Regions from separate parts of the Homo sapiens genome. Here region 2 is linked to region 1. Evidence: promoter capture Hi-C in human tissues and cell types (Jung and others, 2019). All regions are on one chromosome and are shown on one strand. The core of a region is centred on a gene start or on the middle of the fragment in contact, and the rest is flanking DNA. Distances in the headings are between cores, read along the strand shown. Region 1 holds the start of BHLHA15 (basic helix-loop-helix family member a15). Region 2 holds the start of OCM2 (oncomodulin 2).

Region 1 (4,741 bases), core at 1,201-3,700:
AAGGAAGGCAGCGCCTGCTCTTCCTTAACTCAGCCCATCATCTGAAAATTCAGAAGTGAACCAAGGGTTAGACGCCAGAGGTTGGGCTTCTGTTAGAGTGGCTTCAAAACATGAGCCTTATGGGAAGTAGCCTTAAAAAAAGAATGGGTATACGCAGTGACTTCCGATGGAAATCTCCAAAACAATATTCCTAAGTAGCAATGGGGTTGGCTCAAGTCTTTATTAACAAAGAACATTCTCTTTCATCTATAAAGAAATTCTTAAAGATGCATTGACAGTGTTGAATTACCAACAGCCTGTGAAGATCAGTTTGACCGGTGTGGACACGTGCTGGTTAAGCACTCAGGCCTACGTGGGCCGAGCGGGATCTTGATCATGGGGCTGGTGTATGGATCCACCGTCGGATTCCGTCTGCAGAGGAGGACGTAGGGGGCCGTCACACCCACCAGGCCTCCCTGCTGTGCTTTAACACAGGCAGAAGAGGTTCATGGCAATATAATAGTCAATGAACTTTCAGTTTAAATTGTGTACATTTTTAAATTGTAAGATTTTTACTGTATATTGATGCATAGTGTGATTCAATAAATTGCTTGTAATTTAAAAACTATTTAATATTCAAAATAAATATAGTTATATATTTATAAACTCTGTTGGCCGCGTTTCTTCTGTGTTTTGTCCACCGTGCAAGGGCCACCTGGGTGGGTGGCCTGGCCCTGCCCTGCTGTGAGCGCCCGCAGCCTGTGTTCCAGGCCCCTGCCCTGGTCCCTCTGGAGCTTGTGTGACAGACCTAAACTCCCCGCACTCCTGAGGACATAAAGCTTTGTATAACCACTGGAAAACCAAACCTGTTTAGTGTTCCTGCCACCTTGAAGCATGTCTATAAACCATGCCTTTGCACTCATGAATTTCGGAAGCATTTTCATTTCCAAGGACCTCATTTGGCCCAGCCTCAAATGAGCTTTAGGCCAAGAGAAGAACTAACTAACCTTGGCTCCAAGCTAGCCTTTCTGTGCCCGCCCCCCGCCCCACTATGGCCCCTCTGAGTTCCCACCCAGAGGTACTGAGACAGAGCGGCGAGACCCATGAGTGTGGAGCCCAGGCCTGCCAGCCAGCGTGACACTCACCGCACCCCCAGCAGCGTGCAGTCACCGCACCCCTAGCAGCCCCGAATAGTCCCTGAGCAAGATGCTGCTTTGGCTGGGCGTGGTGGCTCACGCATGTAATCCCAGCACTTTGGGATGCCGAGGCGGGTGGATCACTTGAGGTCAGGAGTTGAAGACCAGCCTGGCCAACGTGGAGAAACCCCGTCTCTACTAAAAATACAAAAATTAGCTGGGCGTGGTGGTGCATGCCTGTAATCCCAGCTACTCGGGAGGCTGAGGCAGGAGAATCGCTTGAACCCGGGAGGCGGAGGTTGCGGTGAGCCGAGATCATCTCGCTCCATTGCACGCCAGCCTGGGCAGCAAGAGCGAAACTCCGTCTCAAAAACAAACAAACAAACAAAACAGGCGTTCCCAAGGACTGCACACCTGCCCAAGGAGCCCCCCACCCCCACCCCAACTCGGGCTCCGCCCCCAGCCCGTAGGAGCCCCAGGTTCCCCTAAACATCCCGGGCGGCGGGGCGGGGGATCCCCTGGGAGATGCCCGCGTTTTCGCGGAGCGGCTCGTCCCGGAGTGCTCCTGGGACTTGGGATCTGTGTGCTGAGCCTGAATCGGGGCTGCCCCTCCTTCCGGCGGCTCCCAGAGACCTGTTTCCCATTGGCGGAATGGGCCCGGGCCCCGCCACGAGTGGAGAGGCCGGGCAAGGAGGATCGCGGGAGGCATGGATGCGGGGGTGCTGTGTCAGGGGGAGGGTCGGGGAAAGCGGGCGGGGGGAGGCTGTCTCGGGCACGGATATGGGGTAGGCGGGTGGGAAAGGCGCGAGTGGAAATTGAGGGGGAGGATGGGGAAAAGCAGGTTGTGGGGAGGCTGTCGGGGGACGGGAGTAGGGGAGGTGGGGACGCAGGCTGTCTTGGGGGGGCTGTAGCGGGAGAATGGGGAGAGACGAATGGGGGGAAGCTATCTCGGGGCGGTTGGGGGGCTGTCGGGGGAGGATGGGGAGAAGCGTGTGGGGGAGGCTGTCTGGGGGAACGAGGGTCGGGGGCTGTCGGGGGATGGTGGGGAGAGGCGGGCGGGGGTGGCTGTCTTGGGGGACGAGGGTGGGGGGCAGTAGGGGGAGGATGGGGAGAGGCGGGCGGGGGAGGTTTTCTATCTTGGGGGCGGGGCGGAAGCTGGGGGCGGGGCTGCGCGGCCACCTGGTCCGGGAGCCCCAGGCGCCGGCCTCCCGCCCGCCCGCCCGCAGGTGCCGCCACTGCTGCCCAGCGCCCGCCGGGACACCCGGACCCCGGCCCCGCCCCGGCCCCGCCCCGAGGGCTCATTTGCATGCGTCCGCGGCCCCTCCCGGGGCGGCTAAAGCGACGTGTCCTTGTCCCCCGTGGGCAGCCTCGGCGCGTGTGGCCGCGGATCCCCAGGTAACCCGGGAGCTGGGAACTCGGGTGGGGCCGCGGGGAGGGGACCCAGGGGCAGGACCTGGCGGTGGGGTTGTGGGGGTTGTGGGGGCTGTGGGGAAACCCGGGTGGGGGACTTCTGGTCTGTCTGGAGGCTCCACGGGGCCCATCCACGTGGTGGGATTGGGGGCTGCCGCCAGGCCCTGGCCATTGCCGACCTCTGACCTCCACGGCTGCCCCATGTCCGCAGCGGTTCTGGCCCCAGTGCTGTCCCATGTCCGCAGCGGTTCTGGCCCCAGTGCTGTCCCTGCACGTGTCACGTCCAGCGGGGCAGGACAGTGAGAGCCTGGTGGCTGGAGTCACTGCCCGCCCACGGGATGAAGTCAGTGCCGCCTCCGGCAGAGGCGCCCCCTAAGCTAGGGTGGGGGACGCATTCTAGGCAAAGTGTCAAAGGTCACCGAGCTCAGGAGGCACTCTGGGGGCAGTGAGGGGCATGAGCCAGAGGAAGATCTAGGGGTCAGGATGAGTCATCCTGGGGGAAGGGGGACGCAGGGACAGGGACAGATTCCAGAGGTCTGTTTGAGGTAAAGCAAGGGCGTGGGTGTGTGTGGGGTCAGCCCAGGGCTAAGCGTGTGAACAGAAGGACCTCCAGTCGCAGAGCGCCAACCCCTGCCCCTGGTACCATTGCTGTCAGCAAGGAGGAGGCTGCCAGGGACGGCACCCCAGCGGGTCCCCTGCCCATGTGGGGTGACCACAGAGTGTCCTGTGTTCTGGATTTCAGCTCCAAGGGCCTCACCTTCCTGCCGCCACCTCCTAGGACAGCCAGTCCAGGGCCATGAAGACCAAGAACCGGCCCCCACGGCGCCGGGCCCCGGTGCAGGACACAGAGGCCACCCCCGGGGAGGGGACGCCCGACGGGTCCCTGCCGAACCCGGGGCCAGAGCCGGCCAAGGGTCTGCGGAGCCGGCCGGCCCGGGCCGCAGCAAGGGCTCCGGGCGAGGGCAGGCGCAGGCGGCCAGGACCCTCCGGGCCCGGTGGCCGTCGTGACAGCAGCATCCAGCGGCGGCTGGAGAGCAACGAGAGGGAGCGGCAGCGGATGCACAAGCTAAATAACGCCTTCCAGGCCCTGCGTGAAGTCATCCCCCACGTGCGCGCGGACAAGAAGCTCTCCAAGATCGAGACGCTCACGCTGGCCAAGAACTACATCAAATCGCTGACGGCCACCATCCTGACCATGTCCAGCAGCCGCCTCCCAGGCCTGGAGGGGCCGGGCCCCAAGCTCTACCAGCACTACCAGCAGCAGCAGCAGGTGGCTGGGGGTGCGTTGGGGGCCACGGAGGCCCAGCCCCAGGGCCACCTGCAGAGGTACTCCACGCAGATCCACAGCTTCCGAGAGGGCACCTAGCGCCCAGTCCTGGGTGGGGGTGGCGGTGGCCGCAGCTGCCTGGCCTGCTCCTCCCAGCCCCAGTCCCTCCAAGCCACGAGCCCCAGATGGGCGGTGACACCCCACAAGGACACGGCCTCAGCGGTTCCATTTTCCCCCGAACATTCAGCCACTTCCCTGGAGCAATTTTTCCTGCCCCGCTGGGGACCAGCGAGTGGCCTAGTTGCGGCTGTGGCCCTGGACAGCGGCGTGAGGCCCAAACCTCTAGGTAGGGCCCAGTTGGATCCTGATTTTTCATTGAGCCAGGCAGTCTCAGCCCGAGTTGAAAGGCCTCCTTAGCCTTGGAACTAACGTCTCTTCACCCTGACTTCTGGGCAAGGGGAGATCCCAGGAAAAGGTTTACCTGCAGGTTTTCCAAGGCCAAAGCCCCAGCAAGGACCCCCTCTCCAACCTTTGTTATAGGGCTACATGGGGCCTGGGCTCAGCATCCTCATTTGGGGTAAACTGAGGCCCGGGACAAGCCCGGCAGAGCCTAAGGCTGCTCGGGGAGTGGGGCCAATCAGAGATGATTGGAGCTGCCAGAAACTCTAATCAGATGACCTCCAATTCATCCTTAAAAGTTGAATGGTGGGGAGGGGCTGGAGTCTCTTCCTCCCTCCTCCCAAGTTGGGGCTCCTGGATGTGTTGACTCCAGGCTGTGCCTGGTTGTGGAGGGTCTGGGGCAGGGTGTGAGGGGTGCTGTGGAACTGGAGCAGGAGACAGGGCTGGGTGTTCCTGGTGCAGCCCTTCTGGGCATGGGAGAGAAGCCCCAAGGCCCTGGGTTGCTCCCCAAGAGCAGCTCTGAGGCCTCCTGCTCAGCCCTGGCCTGTGT
Region 2 (4,741 bases), core at 1-2,500, 220 kb before region 1:
TTTTGAGACAGAGTCTCACTCTGTCGCCAGGCTGGAGTGCAGTGGCGTGATCTCGGCTCACTGCAACCTCTGCCTCCCAGGTTCAACTGATTCTCCTGCCTCAGCCTCCCGAGTAGCTGGGATTACAGGCATGCACCCCCATGCCCAGCTCATTTTTGTATTTTTAATAGAGACAGGGTTTTGTCAGGCTGGCCAGGTTGGTCTTGAACTCCTGACCTCAAGTGATGCACCGGCCTTGGCCTCCCAAAGTGCTGGGATTACAGGTGTGAGCACCACACCTGGCCCTTCAGTGATTTCTTGCTTTCATGTTTAGTAGGTTTCTTTTGTCTTACAGAAGTGTAATCGTGTGCTCAGATCCCAGATCTCTATAATTTTAGTTATCTAATAAATAGTAGTTTTCTTCTCTGATTCCATGAATTTTCCAGCCAAGCTCTTATTTACTTATTTATTTATTTATTTATTTATTTATTTAGAGACAGAGTCTCACTCTGTCGTCCAGGCTGGAGTGCAGTGTAGCGATCATAGCTCACCACAGCCTCAACCTCCTGGGCTTGAGTGATCCTCCTACCTTAGTTTCCAGAGTAGCTGGGACCACAGGCACATGCCACCATGCCCCGCTAGTTTTTATTTTTATTGTTATGTTGTAGAGATGGAGTCTTGTTATGTTGCCCAGGCTGGTCTCAAACTCCTGGGCTCAAACAGTCCTCTCACCTTGGCCTCCGAAAAGTGTTGGGATTACGGATGTGAGCCACCATGCCTGGTCTACATTTTTTTTTTTTTTGTAGACAGAGTCTACAAAAAAGGCCGGGTTCAAGCAATTCTCAGCCTCAGCCTCCCGAGTAGCTGGGATTACAGGTGCCCACCACCACGCCTGGCTAATTTTTTTGTATTTTTATTAGAGATGGGGTTTCACCATCTTGGCCAGGCTGGTCTCAAACTCCTGACCTCGTGATCCACCCACCTCAGCCTCCCAAAGTGCTAGGATTACAGGCGTGAGCCACTGCGTCTGGCCGCCTGGCCTACATTTTGATTTTGTGTTGCCTCGCTGGAGGGGCAAAGCTGTGAGGAAATCCCACCCCCGCCCCACGTCCCCTCTACCTTGGCATTCCTGGAGCGCTGCTGCAATGTCATCAGCACTGAGCACGTCCGTGATGCTCATTTTCTACCTACTCACACAGAATAAACGAGAGGCGATAAGCCACAAACAGGAACGTGCACATCCAGGGGAAACACATCTTCCCAGGCCCACTGAAACTGTATGTGTGTCTAGATTTTTTTTTTTTTTTTTTTTGAGATGGAGTCTCACTCTGTCACCCAGGCTGGAGTGCAGTGGCACAATCTTGGCTCACTGCAACCTCCACCTCCTGGGCTCAAGTGATTCTCCTGCCTCAGCCTTCCGAGTAGCTGGGATTACAGGTGCGCACTACCAGGCCTGGCTGATTTTTGTGTTTTTAGTAGAGATGGGGTTTTGCCATGTTTGCCAGCCTGGTCTCGAGCTCCTGACCTCATGTGATCTGCCTGCCTTGGCCTCACAAACTGCTGGGATTACAGGCATAAGCCACCAAGCCAGGCCTGTCTAGAATTTTTAAAATGTGATAAGCATGGTTTTGTATTAAGTGACGGGACAGAATATCCAAATTAAAACCAGATACCAAAAAGACCCCAGCCCTTTTTGTCTCAGAGCCTTCTTTTGAATATATGCCAAAAATGAAAAAAAAAAACATGACCCAAAGAAGGATTCAATTGTTTTCTTATAAAAATTATACTGACATAATCAGTCATTTGCATAGGCAGCCGTAAACCATGTTACAAATGCACTGGCATTTTCCTACAGCAGTCCGAGAGATGCACTGTTGCAAATTCCACGTGGGAAAGGATACAGTTTGGGCTGCTTGCAGACATTCTGTGGAAGAAGACATGCTACCTGTCCTGAAAGGTGGGAAGCAGATGGATGAAAAGCCCATCTCCCAGAGATTAAAATCCTTCCAGATGTCAGAGCCATGGGAAAACAGGAGTCTAAGCACCTGAGCCTAATATGAATGCATGCAGTGAAGAAGAGTCTGGGGTCTGATGGGTCCACCAGTTACTCACCGTTTTAGGTTTTCCCCCAGGAAGAATCAGGAAAAAGAGTTGAAGGAGCAAAACAACAGATGTGCTTTTGCTACCTTACTGACCTACCTTATATAGGCTAGAAAAAGTGATAGTTACAACCTCTTAGATTTCCTTTTCAAGGATCAAGTGGATGCAGCTCAAATGTCTTGTCCTACTCAGGAAACCTCTTTTTTTTTTCTATTTATGTCTCAAGGGAATGTGGGTGGGAATAGCCAATTGTAAAAACAACAACAACAACAACAACCTCAACAAACCTTAACTAAGGTTTCAATTCTGCAAACGAACCCTGTTGGCAAAGTGTGGAGAAGGTTCTAGAGCCTGGTAAGCTGGAGATGGTGGCCTGAACTAAGACAAACACATACAGGGTGCTCTGTAAGCTGAAAAGCTCCCCAGATGTTAGCAGGTACCGTTGGAGGCAGGCCTGTTTTCAGCTTTGGGAACTATGGATGTGTAAGGCTGACCTCAATCTGGAGTTGAAGACTCAAAGCCATTGTCACCAAGTGCACACACAGGACTCGTCCGGCACAGGAGACAGGGCTAAGTGACGTGATTTTCCTACAAAACTCTTGACTTTTACGTTTCCCAGCTATACCATAAATTGCACACACTCAAAAGGCAAAAAGGAGGAAATCAAACCAGCATCCCCAACCCCCAAAACTAACAAGTTCAGAAACAAATACTCTGAGGCTGAGGCCAGGACTAGACACCTCAAGATTTTGTTTCTGTTGTGACAGGGTCTTGCTCTGTTGCCCCGACTGGAGTGCAGTGGTACAATCTCAGCTCATTGCAGCCTTGACCTCCAGGCTCAAGCGATCCTCCCACCTCAGTCTCCCGAGTAGCTGGTACTACAGGCACACACCACCATGCCTGGCTAATTTTTTTAATATACATATTTTTTGGAGAGACAGGGTTTTGCCATGTTGCCTAGGCTGGTCTTGAACTCCTGGGCTCGAGTAATTCTCCCACCTCAGCCTCCCAAAGTGCTGGGATTACATGTGTGAACCACCACTCCTGGCCTTTTTTTTTTTTTTAATTTTCAGCAAACATTTATTGAGGCTTTATATGGCCAGCACTGTGCTAGACTCTTCTTTTTAATTATTGGGTAAAAACCACATTCCATAAAATATATAATCTCAACCATTTTTAAGTGTATGTATAGTACAATATTGTTAACTCTTGGTGCATTATTGAATGAGAGATCTCTGTAATTTATTCAGCTGGAAAAACAGAAACTCTGTATCCATTGAGCTGCCACAACTCCCCTGTTCCCCCACCTCCCAGCTCCTGGTAAGCATCATTGTACTTTCTGCTTCTAAGAGTTTGACTACTGGCCGGGCACAGTGGCTCATGCCTGTAATCCCAGCACTTTGGGAGGCCGAGGCAGGCAAATCACAAGGTCAGGAGTTCGAGACCAGCCTGACCAACATGGTGAAACCCCATCTCTACTAAAAATGCAAAAATTAGCTGGGCATGGTAGCCTGTAATCCCAGCTACTTGGGAGGCTGTGGCAGGAGAATCACTTGAATCTGGGAGGCAGAGGTTGCAGTGAGCTGAGATTGCGCCACTACACTATAACCTGGGTGACAGAACGAGACTCCACCTCAAAAAAAAAAAAGAGTTTGACTGCTTTATCTAGGGACATCATATAAGTGGAATCATATAGTATTTGTATTTTTCAGACTGGCTTATTTCACTGAGTATAATGTCCTCAAGGTTCATCTGTGTTGTGGCATGTGTCAGGATCTCCTTTTTTTTTTTTTTTTTTTTTTGAGACGGAGTCTTGCTCTGTCACCCAGGCTGGAGTGCAGAGGCATGATCTCAGCTCACTACAACCTCCGCCTCCCGGGTTCAAGAAATTCTCCTGCCTTAGCCTCCCGAGTAGCTAGGATTACAGGCACATGCTACCACACCCGGCTAATTTTTGTATTTTTAGTAGAGATGGGGGTTTCACCATGTTGGCCAGGCTGGTCTCAAACTCCTGACCTCAAGTGATCCACCTGCCTTGGCCTCCCAAAGTGCTGGGATTACAGGTGCGAGCCGCCGCACCTGGCCTAGGATCTCCTTTTTAAAAGCTGGAGTCATGTTTTTTGTTTGTTTGTTTTTCATTTTTATTTTTATTTGTTTTTGAGACAGAGTTTTGCTCTTCGGGCTGGAGTGCAGTAGTGTGATCTCGGCTCACTGCAGCCTTGACCTCCTGGGTTCAGGCAATCCTCCCAGCTCAGCCTCCCAGGAGGCTGGGACTACAGGCGCACACCACCACACCTGGCTAATTTTTTGTATTTTTTTTGGTAGAAACGGGGGCCTCACGATGTTGCCCAGGCTGGTCTCAAACTCCTGGACTCAAGCGATCCACCCTGCTCGGCTTCCCAAAGTGCTGAGATTACAGGCGTAAGCCACTGTGCCCAGCCTGAAGTTTTTAAAAAGTGCAAAAATAGATCCCATGTTGCAATGAGAAACATACAGTGGCTTAGAAGTAGACAGTTCAGGCCGGGTGCAGTGGCTGATGCCTGTAATCCCAGCACTTTGGGAGGCTGAGACAGGCAGATCACCTGAGGTCGGGAGTTCGAGACCAACCTGACCAACATGGAGAAACCCCGTCTCTACTAAAAATATAAAATTAGCTGGGCAT

What was found. The method cuts DNA at HindIII sites, captures the fragments that hold promoters and counts their contacts. A contact is called where the count stands out against the background at its distance.
Region 2: the fragment with the promoter of OCM2 here is called in contact with the fragment with the promoter of BHLHA15 in region 1 in 1 of the 25 tissues and cell types used here (mesendoderm cells).

What each region holds. Positions count from the first base shown.
Region 1 is chr7:98,208,989-98,213,729 of GRCh38, forward strand. BHLHA15 (basic helix-loop-helix family member a15) reads left to right here and starts at 2,451. Exons shown (of 2, transcript NM_177455.4): 1 at 2,451-2,510; 2 at 3,268-4,741. The coding sequence starts at 3,322. The coding sequence ends at 3,891. It overlaps LMTK2 (lemur tyrosine kinase 2), which reads left to right. Exons shown (of 14, transcript NM_014916.4): 14 at 1-650. RefSeq lists a silencer at 2,323-2,512. The HindIII fragment of the contact is 24,836 bases long and covers 1-4,741 here.
Region 2 is chr7:97,988,946-97,993,686 of GRCh38, forward strand. OCM2 (oncomodulin 2) reads right to left here and starts at 1,251. Exons shown (of 4, transcript NM_006188.4): 1 at 1,099-1,251. The coding sequence starts at 1,159. The HindIII fragment of the contact is 22,202 bases long and covers 1-4,741 here.